Regions from separate parts of the Homo sapiens genome. Here all the other regions are linked to region 2. Evidence: promoter capture Hi-C in 16 types of primary human blood cells and fetal thymus (Javierre and others, 2016). All regions are on one chromosome and are shown on one strand. The core of a region is centred on a gene start or on the middle of the fragment in contact, and the rest is flanking DNA. Distances in the headings are between cores, read along the strand shown.

Region 1 (4,244 bases), core at 325-2,824, 280 kb after region 2:
CTGGTCCTCAAAGTAAGGTGTTGTTGGAGCCTCCTGGGGTAATTTCAAGGGAGTTTTGTGTGAAAGGGAAGCAGTGCCACCAGACTCCTCCTGAAGCTAAGCCAGGATGAATTATTAAGGAGCTGAAGGAAGCCAGGGCTTAACTAAAGGAGCCCCACGTCTATCTCTGTGAATATTTCAAACCATCTGGACCTATTTTGTGGAGAGAAATTTCTTGCGCTGCCTGAAAGACAAGCAGGGAGCTAGCATTATGCTCACATAGGACAGTTCTCCGTCAAGGGAGGCCTGCGTTTCAGGGCTGGGATCCACGCTCAGAGAAAGCTTCTTAGTGCTGCAGAGCTATTTTTAAAGTGCGAAACTCAATATGTCAGTGGGAGAGGGAGGGAGAGAGGGCTGGGGGTGAAATGGCTGAGGCCATCCAGGCCCCTGAAGGAGCCTCACTTTCCTGGGTGGGTGAAGCCACTCATTTGGGTCTTGCCTGACACCCCCAGATCTCTATTTTAACCCCTGAAAATAAATACCTAGCCTTGTGTTCAGAGCTGATGGTGGGGCCACAGGCCAGAATAGAATTTAATCATTTACTCTGGCTCTCTTTGGTTTAATAGATGCCATATCTGGCAGCTTAACGGGGATGTGTCCTAGTTCCATGTTAAAAACAAAAATTAAAAAAAAATTAAGAACGCTTCTTTATGTTCTGTTTACAACTGTTTTTAACATACATTTGAAATGTTCATCTTCCTGTCTTTCTGTGTGCTGGCTCTGAGGCACCCAGCATCCTCTCTAGTTGGGAGTATCCCGCTGTCCCCCTCTCTTTCTGAGGCTGTGGTTTTCCAGTGGGTGTCTCTGGCCCAAATAGCCCTATCAGAAATGAAGCAACAGGCTGGGTGCAGTGGCTCATGCCTATAATCCCAGCACTTTGGGAGGCCACGGCGAGTGGATCGCTTGAACCCAGGACTTTGAGACCAGTCTGGGCAACTTAGCGAAATCCTGACTCTACTAAAAACACAAAAATTAGCTGGGCATGGCGATGCGTGCCTGTAGTCCCAGCTACTTGGGAGGCTGAGGTGAGAGGATCGCTTGAGCCCAAGAGGTTGAAGTTGCAGTGAGCTGAGATTGTGCCTCTGCACTCCAGCCTGGGCTACAGAACAAGACCCTGTCTCAATCAATCAATAAACCAAGCAACAGCCAGACCCACACTTAGACTGACCAGTCATGTGTTTGGGTAGGAGACGGTTATAAAGTGTCATTTTTCCGTTTGTGCTATATAGGAAAAAATAGCTTGAATGGCAGTGCTAATAAGGATAAAAGGAGTTGACATTCGTCAAGCACACACTTGGTTCCCTTACAAAGCAAAGGCAGTTTGGAATAAAACAATAAAAAGTAAACTTTGAAATAAAATAAATGGAAAATGCATTGTAAAAATATCAGTTTGGAATTGACTTGAAGAGTTGCCAGATCTCTTCCCTGCACCACATTTCACAGTTTACAAAGCTTGTTGGTTTACGTTTTCCATTTCTTAGGGGCCTTGTTCTGGAGGTCTTTACTAGAAGCCAGTGCCGGCAAGTGACTGGGGAAAAGGCAACTCTTCATGGAGGGAGTGTGCAGATGCCAGACATGGCTATAATATTTTACTTTTTATTTTGCCACAAGGGAGAAAGGAAGCTTGACATTGGAAGAAAAAAAGTTATGTGGATGGAGATATGTAGATACAAAGGTGTTTGAAATCAAGCTTCCTTGAAGTCAAAGAGAAAGTTATGTGTTAAGACCCAGAATAATTTCTGATTCAAGGTGAAGTTTTAGAATGTGAGAGGGAGACCTGGATTAGACTAAATATTGATAGGTGATGGTTTATTGTGCAATTAAAAAAAACACAAATTATCAGTTCTTTATCCAGTTTCCAGTGAGAATTACGTTCGTGAATAATCGGTGCAAAATAAAACCAACACCAGCTAATATTTCACGTGGTAAACTTTGAAAGAATCGTATCTTGGGGATAAAAAACCAACCTGGCAAAAAAAAAAAAAAAACCCAAAAACAAACAAACAAACAAAAAAACAAAATTAGACTTGCTAAGCAATAGTAGCCACAAAAGAAAATATACGAAGGTCAAGCTATAATGGAAAACTAGTGAGGATTAGTGAGTGGAATAACCAAGTGTACCTCGGTATTCTCATTTTTCTACATCTTACCTTGATTGTAATTTAAAAAATAAATACAGAGATCAGAATGGGGTCGTTCAAGATTTCTTTTGGTAGATGTGTTTTGTGCTTAGTCAAGGTGAAAGGATGCCCAGGCACTGCCACTCAGAGGTCTCTGCCCTGTCCGGGGCATCTGGGGGGCACCTGGAAGAGGTCTCTTCCTCATAGCTCTGCCCACCCCACTGTGCAGGTGAGACCCAGAATGGACGCTGCTTTGAGGCAGCTGACCAGTGGGATCTGACCTGGAGCAGCTGGTGGTGGCCAGGGCTGAGAGCCAGGATGAGTGTGGAGGTGGTAGCACGCTGGAGAGTGAGCAGAGAGGGCAGCTTCGCTGGTAGACTGTGTGTGGGGCCCAGGCAGGGAGGAGCCAGGCTTCCTTTCCCTGTTCTTGGGACATCCTCTCTCCTGTTCTTTCTTCCTGCCCTTGAAGACCCTCCTGTTGCTTGGGTTATTTTTCTCTCCCGTGGTCTGACTCCAGGACTTCTCCAAGCCAGGAACTATGGTGACAGATAGACAGGCAGACAGGGTGAGAAAGGGGACCCTCTCTGCAGACCCTCAGGAACTTAGTGCCAGGGGAGGGGGCTCTGAAGTCAAGCTTCCTTGAAGTCAAAGAGAAAGTTATGTGTAAGACCCAGAATAACTTCTGATTCGAGGTAAACTTTTAGAATTTGAGAGGGAGACCTGGATTAGACTAAATATTGATAGGTGATGGTTTATTGTGCAATTGAAAAAAACACAAATTATCAGTTCTTTATCCAGTTTCCAGTGAGAATTACTTTTGTGAATAATCAATGCAAAATAAAACCAACACCAGCTCACATTTCACATGGTAAACTTTGAAAGAATCATATCTTGGGGATAAAAAAAGCAATCTGGCAAAAAAAAAATTAGACTTGGGCACAGGGGCAGGAGCAGAGACGAGCCCTCATGTCATTTCCAGATTGGTGTCAGGGAGTATCTGAATGTTTATCCTTTTAAAATGTTTCTAGGGGATGTCTCCAGGCCTTGTTGAGCTTAGTCTCCTGTAAAATTCACCTCCTACAAATTAAAAATAAAAGCCAAACAAAGAATTTTAACCTCAGCTGAAATAACAGCTCCAACAAACATTCTTGCACTGAGCACCATGTGCCCGGAATCCCTCAAGGGCACCTGGCCACTGGTCCTGCCAAATTCCCCACTTCCCTGCCCAGCCAGGCCCTGGGTGGCCCCACAGTTGGCCACTCCTAGAATAGGCTCCACAGGACTATGTGTATTTTTTGTATTTGTTAGTTTTTTTTTCTTATTCAATTCCTAAAATGGAAGATCTACAGGTGGATAGAACGCTCACTAAGTAAGTCCTCAGCTTCCAAAACCTAGAGGCACACTATTACCCTACACATTTAGTTAAGGGAAAATGGAAAGGAGAAAAGGAGGGAGGGAAGGAGGAGACAGAGGAAAGAAAGAAAAGCAAGGCAAGGCCTGGAAAGATTTGCAGAAGTAATGACAGCTTTTTTCTTTTTTTTTTGGAGACATAGTCTCACTGTGTCACCCAGGCTGGAGTACAGTGGCATGATCTCAACTCACTGCAACCTCCAGGTGCCAGAGATTCTCCTACCTCAGGATCCCGAGTAGCTGGGATTACAGGCACATTTTTATATTTTTAGTAGAGATGGGGTTTTGCCATGTTGGCCAAGCTGGTCTCGAACTCCTGACCTCAAGTGATCCGCCTGCCTGCACCTCCCAAAGTGTTGGGATCACAGGCGTGAGCCACCGCACCTGACCAGTAACGACAGCTTTTAATGGTGAAAAACAGAACAAGCTGAGAAGGCTACAGTGAGGACTGGAATGTTGGGCTCTGATGTGTGGCTTTGATGTGTATATGTTTGAGCTTCTCCCTTTTTTACATCCCTGGGGAAATTTTAACTTCATTCTGTTAAGCTTAAATGCTTTTATGAGAAGTATCCTAATTTAATAAAGTCTTATCTAGAAAACGTTTTATGAAAAATACCTAAGATGTAGAATAGGGAGTAGAATAGAATCTGGTGGGTAAAAGTGGGCTGTATACAT
Region 2 (4,167 bases), core at 428-2,927:
CACCAGAATGATCTGGAGAGGATTAGGGACGGCTCTTGTGGGCACATTTTTACTCTAGTTTCATGGGTGGAGATGGCATCTGCCGTGGTCTGCAGCATGCAAGTAAAGACACCAGGTGGCACCATTTATTAGCTTTCAATCCCATGGAGAGGTCCCATCATGTAACTACCAAGAGGTTGAAGGAACCAACTACCTCTTGCATATTGTAGCTAATGGTTCTTGCCTTCTTCTTCCAGACTTGGGAAATAAATTTGAAAATCGTATTTTCTGTTTCATAATATTTGCAGTGCATGGTTGAAGGGAAGAAGGCCACGTGCTATTGCCAGTTGGTCTCCAGGAGGTGACATCCATCATCTCCATGTCAACTTGTGAGCTTTACAAATCTAATTTTCAGTACGTGGCTACAGTATACACAAGAAAATATGTGCTTTGCCACTTGGCTCTAAAGGCTCACCGTTGTACACAAGCAATGAGTTTAGGGGTTCTTCCCTCTTGTTATCACATGTCATCTCCACAGGGTTTCAAAAGATCTGGATAGGGTGAGACAGACACACCAGTGTAGTACTCCCTTGGGTCCCTTGTCTTTGGCTTAGGCTTTTTCATAAGGTATAATAATTTGTTAGAGGTTCTTCCCTCTTGCAGACACATGTCATCTCCACAGGGATTCAAAAGATCTGGATAGGGTGAGACGGACACACCAGTGTACTATTCCCTTGGGACCCAAGTCTCTGGCTTAGGCTTTTTCATAAGGTGATTTCTTGTGGTAGTAGTCAAGTGGAGAATACTCAGGAAATACTATTTCATGTAACATTTCCGTGTATTCCCTCTGCCTCCCCCGACATGAGTTAGAAAACTACCCCTCGATCTAGTATCAGCAAGCTCGACAGTGACCTCAGCAAGGAACAGCCCTAGATAAAAGGATTCATAAGTAAATGGAATGAGGAAAAGATCTGGAGCAACAAAGTCCTGGTCAGCTTTAGGTGAGGAAGCACAATGGGATGTTGGAGGCTAAAGAAGCCATGAAACCTAAAGTATTATAACATAGCATATTCACTTCTCTTTCCCCCGCACGCCCAAAGCTCTGTTCAAGGCCACCCTTTCCCCTTTCATGATGACCAGGTTGCCCAGTGCAAAAATACTGTTCTTAGCTATTAAATTGCATTACTCAGAATAATCCTTTCCACGTTGAGTCTACGTGCCGGACTGGCTGCGAGCAGAAACTACTTCAGTCGCTTTAAATCTCAACACTTGTGGTCGCTGGGAGCAGAGCTTTTAGGCTGTAGCTCAGTCTTGTAATTCTGAGCTAGGAGTTTCAGCTACGGTCCCTCGGGCCTATCAGATGACAACCTTAACACCCTGGAGGCGTGGTTATCGTCTTGGGGCTCTGGGAAGTGCAGTTCCATGGGGGACCAGGCCTGATAATACCATAAAAGGCTTGGTTCTCTCAATTCTGAAGCCATGTTCTGTTGACCTTCCTCTAAAAGCGGTACCCGCAATTGTGCGGATTCCGTGGTTCCCTAGTCCCAAGCCGTCTGCTTCCTGGGCCCTTTCATTGGCTCCGCCCCCGTAAACCTTGCTCGTCCACTCTGGAAGCGCTCTCCTGACTACAGGCCGCGCCCCTCGCGTCGGCTCCGCCCACCCAGCCCGCGGCTTGGCCCAGGCGGTAGTTCGCGTTTTGAGCCGATCGTGCCACCATAGCTCCTGCTGCTGCCTCTACCGCTGCGGCTACCGCGGCGGAGCTGAAATTGCCGAACGCGATGCCCGAGGGCGCTGTGAGCGGGGTGGCCTTAGCTCGCCGAGGCTGGTGAGGCTGGGCCCGAACGGGGGCGCTGACGAGTAGCAGGGGCCTCAGAGGCGGGTGAAAGATAAAGGTCCAGAGCCGCTGTGGAGGGCGGAGAGCGAGCTCTGGAGGATAGGGAGTGGGGGAGGGAGGCTCCCGTGGCAGAACGAGTTGTGGGCTACGGCGAGCCCCGCCGCGTCCCCGCCGGCGCTAGCGCAGGTGTCCAGGCCTGCGGAAATCCCTGGTGGTCTCGGCGGCCTCCTCCCTTGGACACTACAGTTGCCATGGGAACAGTTGGGCATTAACGGGAACCAGATCGTCCACGAGACCAACTGGGGCCCATCCCATCCATCTCGCCAGTTAAACGCCTCTGGCGGGCGTGGGCCTGGCATTTCTTCGTGGCTTAGGATTTTCCCCCCCTTTTTCGTGAGCCTTTCCTTCCGACGTTGTAAGAAACTGTGCAGGGCTAGAAGGTGGGGATGAGGGAAATGGTGAGAGCAATACCCAGAGGTAAAAGCTGCAGACTTCGCTAGGCAGAAGGTAAGACACTGTGATACTAAGGTGGCTTCTGCCATCTCAGGTCAGTGAGAGGGCATACTGGGAAGCCCTCTGGAGTGGGAAGACAGTGCCGCTGTTGAGACAAGACCCAGGACTGGGCCGGGGACTGTCCCAAAGGGTTTCTCGTCATAATGGCTGTGGAAGGGTCAACCATTACCAGCCGGATCAAGAATCTGTTGAGATCTCCATCCATCAAACTGCGCAGGAGTAAGGCAGGAAACCGACGAGAGGACCTCAGCTCCAAGGTGAGTCCTGTTGGGATCCACCTCTTTCCAAACCCACCCTCTCCTGCTCCATGTTCCTCGTTAACCTTCCTGTTTCTTGGGAAAGATAACTAGAAGCCCTTGTTGACTCTAAAGGATCACATATGATCTCTGCAGGCAATGATTTGGTTTTAGGTTGAAGGAAAAAGAGCAGCAGGGGTGGGCATGCTGAGATTCATCCATGAGAAAAGGTGAATAGTAGGAAGACCACCTGGGTTCAATTGTGGCCTCACTATACACTAAGCATGTGCTTGGGAAGCCAGTTGATATGCTATGACTCAGTTTCCCTTCTTGGGAGAGGACAGTAGGAACACATACCTTGTGAAGGGCTAAGCTGTGACTAATGTAGCTGCAGGTGTTAACGTAACAGCTGGGGTTATGTAAGACTGTAGTGGCAGAAAGAAATATGCTAAAACACCTAGTCAGAGTTACTGGCTTGGTAATTGCTCTTGCCTACGGTGAAAACAAATTTTTTTTGTCTCTTCAAGAGGCTAACTGGAGCCTTTTGGCTTCTTAGGAATAACATGCAAGAAGCCAGATATCTGTCAGCAAAACAGTTCTGGATGGCCCTTGAGCATTGCTTATCTCATTCACTATATGCCAAGAGCCACATCCCACTCAGCTGCAGATGATCCTCAGAGGCAAAGTTCCTTTCCATCGCTTCACTTGTCTGTGTTTTGGTCCTTATGCTTTTTCAACTAAATAAACCCCACAACTTTGGGAATCCAGAAGTAGTCGACATTTATTTAATCCCTTGAGGGAATCCAGGGCTTTACTCCCACAGGATCAGATCAGATTTTGTGTCTTATTAGTAGCCTGTAAACCCAATAGGGTTGTGAGGTACAAGGTTGTTACAGGGAGAGGCATTTGAGACCACAGCATTGTATTGCTTTGCCTGTATCTCTTCAGTGATGAGTAAATCCCATGAGGAATGATTTAGAATGCCACTGTACAAATGGCAGGGTTCTGGGAGGACTTAGTTCAGCCCTGTGTTCCTTAGCAGAACTTTGAGTAGATTTGGTAAGAAGGTGAAGAGCTTTCCTGTATATTTCAGCAGAAGTTGTGTTGAATCACAGTTTGCTACAAGGTTTTGTGATGGTGGACATTGTGACCCTTCCAAGGTCTCTTATTCATCATTGTTTCTATTCTCCTGAGGCAGGCAAAGAAGCCTGAAATGTAGAAATTGCCTTAGATATGACTCTGTTCATTCTTAATACTGCAAGTGCTCTTATTCTTGGCTGGTAGCTTGGCAGTGACCAGCACTGTTAGAGCAATCTTCTCCAATCTTTGGCCTCTTTTTCTGGCCAGGAATGATATATGTAGTAGAAACATATAATGAGAGTTTAGCCTTCATTGTTAATTCTTACTGTAATTTTGGTCTGGAATCCAGAAAGTATAGTTGCCATTCTTTAAGACTTCCAATATCATCCATTATTAATGCATTTAACAAGTGTTTATTGAGTGCCTATGAAGTGTGCAATCAGTGATGGGTAAAACATTACCCTTGCCATCAAAGAGCTTATGGCTAGTCAGACATGTAAACAATTAAAACACGGTGTGGTAAGT
Region 3 (4,099 bases), core at 1,581-4,080, 300 kb before region 2:
CCATCTTAGATTAATGGTAGCATATTATACACAGTTTTCTCTCTCTTTTTTTTTTAGCCACCACTCCTGGTTTGTTTTTTGTATTTTTGGTAGAGATGCAGATTCACCATGTTGCCCAGGCTGGTCCCAAACCCCTGAGCTCAAGTGATCTACCCACCTCGACCTCCCAAAGTGCTGGGATTACAGGCATGAGTCACCATGCCTGGCCACGTTCCTTTTTTTTTTTTTGAGATGGAGTCTCGCTCTGTTGCCCAGGCTGGAGTGCAGTGGTATACAGTCTTGGCTCACTGCAACCTCCGCCTCCCGGGTTCAAGCGATTCTCCTGCCTCAGCCTCCCAAGTAGCTGGGATAACAGGTGCCGGCCACAATGCCTGGCTAATTTTTGTATTTTAGTAGAGACAGAGTTTCACCATGTTGACCAAGCTGGTCTCGAACTCCTGACCTCAAGTGATCCACCTGCCTCTGCCTCCCAAAGTGCTGAGATTACAGGCGTAAGCCACCGCACCCGTCCCCACGTTCCTTTTTTATAGCTGCATAGTAGTTCATTGGTAGATGTACCAGTGGTGATTTAGCCACTCTCCTATTTTAAATTTTCCTCAGAAGCTTCTGAAGTCATCATGAGTCTTTCCCCCTCTTTCCTCCCCATAGTCAAGTGTCTTGAGTGCCATAAAAGAGAACTGTCAGTAGTGTTGGTGACCCTTTCTGCCCACCTAGTATCAATCTTCCAGCCCTTTTTTCATCTGCTGGGGCCTGACATTTGGCACCTGAATAATTTTAACTCTGTGTTTTAACTCATTTCTGTATATACCCCAAGTTAGCACAATCCAGTCTAGAGAGGACGGAGCTGTGTATTTGAGTCCTCTTCCATTTCCAGTTCTTTTTCAAGGATGAATTCATTTTCTTGTTGAGAAAACCTAGGTAAACATCTCTTCTTTCTTTCTAGCTGAGCTCCTTGCCAAAAAACAGCCATTAAAAACCAGTGAGGTCTACTCTGATGATGAAGAGGAGGAAGAGGATGACAAATCCAGTGAAAAGTCAGACCGCTCATCACGAACATCATCGTCTGATGAAGAAGAGGAGTAAGCTCTTGTACATTTTGGTCTAGTAGGCAGGATAGGTGGGTTTTTGAGGAAGAGCTTGGTATCGTTTCCAAAATCTCCCTGGTTGGGCCACTAACTCTGACATGGTTACCTTTGGTTTGCTGAACTGAGTTCCCCAGCACGTCAGCCCATTCATTTGGCTGCTAGCCTGTACGCTTAGACATTTCACCTGGGCCTGGAAGGTAGGAACTGACTTCGTGTCATTCTCAGATTGGCCTGGAGCTTTCATTCATTTTCTTTTTTTTTTTTTTTTTTTTTTTTTTGAGACGGAGTCTCGCTCTGTCGCCCAGGCTGGAGTGCAGTGGCAGGATCTCGGCTCACTGCAAGCTCCGCCTCCCGGGTTCACGCCATTCTCTTGCCTCAGCCTCCCAAGTAGCTGGGACTATAGGCGCCCGCCACTACGCCCGGCTAATTTTTTGTATTTTTAATAGAGACAGGGTTTCACTGTTTTAGCCGGGATGGTCTCGATCTCCTGACCTCGTGATCCGCCCGCCTCGGCCTCCCAAAGTGCTGGGATTACAGGCTCATTCATTTTCTTACTCTGATGGGTTATCTAAGATGGCAGCCTCATTTGAAACAGCTCATACTACTGGTCAGGAACAGGATCCTATTACAAGTCTTTGCTGGTGCTTCATTTACTTCTCCTCCTAGGCCAGTCACATGTACTTTGGTTAAGTTTTGAGGAGTTGATATTATTTTTCTGTCTTGTTCTGTTTTTATGATGAACATTTTTTCCAGTGCCCCTTTGTTCCTCTTAGGAAAGAAGAGATCCCTCCCAAATCCCAACCAGTTTCCTTACCTGAAGAATTGAATCGGGTTCGATTATCACGGCATAAGCTAGAACGCTGGTGTCACATGCCCTTCTTTGCTAAAACTGTCACAGGATGTTTTGTGCGGATTGGCATCGGAAACCACAACAGCAAACCAGTTTACCGGGTTGGTATTTCTTCCCTTGGACAATTGTCCATGCTTTCAGTATAATTAGTCTCAACTGAGGGCAGGAGCTACTGAAAAAATCGATCACTCTTCTCTCAGCATTTGATGGAAAGTAGACTCCAAGTGGGATCCCCATAGAGCAGTGAGGTGCCCAGGAATCCTTCATGACTTGTTGCCAAGAGGAGGACTTGGAGCCCAAGGGCCTGGAAGATTTGGATGTAGAATAATTTTCTCTATTCTCCCTTCAGTATAAAAGGGAGAAGGGAGGCATCTATGAAGTGTTCATTGGGAGTTACATAATCTAAAAGATTTGTTCATTTGAAAAACCAATGAATGAAAAGTTTCATGTTGCATACCAAGTGACTTCTACACCAGGGAATTGTATTGAGGTTAAAAAAAACCCTCCAGACTAATACAGGTTATTATGTAGGTTCCAGCACTGCTTCTGTGGTCTAGGTGGACTGGGCACAGTGGCTTACTCCTGTAATCCCAACACTTTGGGATTTATTTATTTATTTATTTATATTTTATTTTACCATTATTATTATTTTTTTATTTTTATTTTTTGAGACGGAGTCTCATTCTGTCACCCAGGCTGGAGTGCAATGGCGTGGTCTTGGCTCACTGCAACCTCCGCCTCCCGGGTTCAAGTGATTCTCCCGCCTCAGCCTCCCAAGTAGCTGGGACTACAGGCGCATGCCACCACACCTGGCTAATTTTTGTATTTTTAGTAGAGACGGGGTTTCACCATGTTGGCGAGGCTGGTCTTGAACTCTTGACCTTGTGATCCACCTGCCTCAGCCTCCCAAAGTGCTGGCGTGAGCCACCGCACCTGGCCTATTTTTATTTTTATTTATTTGTTGTTTTTTTTTTTCAGACAGAGTTTCGCTTTTGTCGCCCAGGCTGGAGTGCAATGGCACGATCTTGGCTCACTGCAACCTCCGCCTCCTGGGTTCAAGTAATTCCCCTGCCTCAGCCTCCCGAGTAGCTAGTGTTACAGGCACCCGCCACCGTGCCTGGCTACTGTTTGTATTTTTAGTAGAGATGGGGTTTCACCATGTTGGCCAGGCTGGTCTTGAACTCCTGACCTCAGGTGATCCACCTGTCTCGGCCTCCCAAAGTGCTGGGATTATTGACATGAGCCACTGAGCCCGGCCTTATTTTTAATTTTTTGTTTTTTATTTTTGGAGACAGAGTCTTACCCCGTTGCCCAGGCTGGAGTGCAGTGGCACGCTCTTGGCTCACTGCAGCCTCTGCCTCCTGGGTTCAAGCGATTCTCATGCCTCAGCCTCCAAGTAGCTGGGACTACAGGCATGCGCCACCACGCCTGGCTGATTTTTTTTTAGACTGAGTCTCTTTTTTTTTTTTTTTAGACGGAGTCTCGCTATGTGGCCCAGGCTGGAGTTCAGTGGCACGATCTCGGCTCACTGCAAACTCTGGCTCCCAGGTTCACGCCATTCTCCTGTCTCAGCCTCCCCAGTAGCTGGGACTACAGGCGCCCGCAACCACGCCTGGTTAATTTTTTGTATTTTTAGTGGAGATGGGGTTTCACCGTGTTAGCCAGGATGGTCTTGATCTCCTAACCTCGTGATCCGCCCGCCTCGGCCTCCCAAAGTGCTGGGATTACAGGCGTGAGCCACCGCACCCGGCCTCACTTTGGGATTTAAAAAAAAATTTTTGTAGCAACAGCCTCTCTCTGTTTCTTATGCTGGTCTCAAACTCCGGGCCTCAAGTGATGTTCTGGCCTCAGCCTCCTAAAGTGCTTGGTGTTGGTTTTTTGTTTTGTTTTGTTTTGTTTTTTTGAGACGGAGTCTCGCCCTGTCATCCAGGCTGGAGTGCAGTGGCGCGATCTTGGCTTACTGCAAGCTCCCACTCCTGGGTTCACGCCATTCTCCTGCCTCAGCCTCCCGAGTAGCTGGGACTACAGGCGCCCACCACCATGCCAGCTAATTTTTTGTATTTTTAGTAGAGACGGGGTTTCACCTTGTTAGCCAGGATGGTCTCGATCTCCTGACTTCGTGATCTGCCTTCCTTGGCCTCCCAAAATGCTGGGATTACAGGTG

The links. Contacts are between HindIII fragments. The CHiCAGO score rates a contact against its expected background, and 5 or more counts as called.
Region 1: a fragment that was not itself captured here is called in contact with the fragment with the promoter of MAPKBP1 in region 2 in 1 of 17 cell types (endothelial precursors); the score reaches 6.7 in endothelial precursors.
Region 3: a fragment that was not itself captured here is called in contact with the fragment with the promoter of MAPKBP1 in region 2 in 1 of 17 cell types (endothelial precursors); the score reaches 6.9 in endothelial precursors.

The regions. Positions count from the first base shown.
Region 1 is chr15:42,050,750-42,054,993 of GRCh38, forward strand. No RefSeq gene overlaps it. Among named protein-coding and RNA genes, the nearest start is that of PLA2G4E, 32 kb to the left of the region's middle. The HindIII fragment of the contact is 171 bases long and covers 1,490-1,660 here.
Region 2 is chr15:41,772,807-41,776,973 of GRCh38, forward strand. It overlaps MAPKBP1 (mitogen-activated protein kinase binding protein 1), which reads left to right and starts at 1,678. Exons shown (of 31, transcript NM_014994.3): 1 at 1,678-1,804; 2 at 2,361-2,583. The coding sequence starts at 2,470. RefSeq lists an enhancer at 1,125-1,174. The HindIII fragment of the contact is 7,491 bases long and covers 1-4,167 here.
Region 3 is chr15:41,469,314-41,473,412 of GRCh38, forward strand. It overlaps RTF1 (RTF1 homolog, Paf1/RNA polymerase II complex component), which reads left to right. Exons shown (of 18, transcript NM_015138.5): 7 at 944-1,079; 8 at 1,859-2,036. Among named protein-coding and RNA genes, the nearest start is that of ITPKA, 23 kb to the right of the region's middle. The HindIII fragment of the contact is 4,459 bases long and covers 602-4,099 here.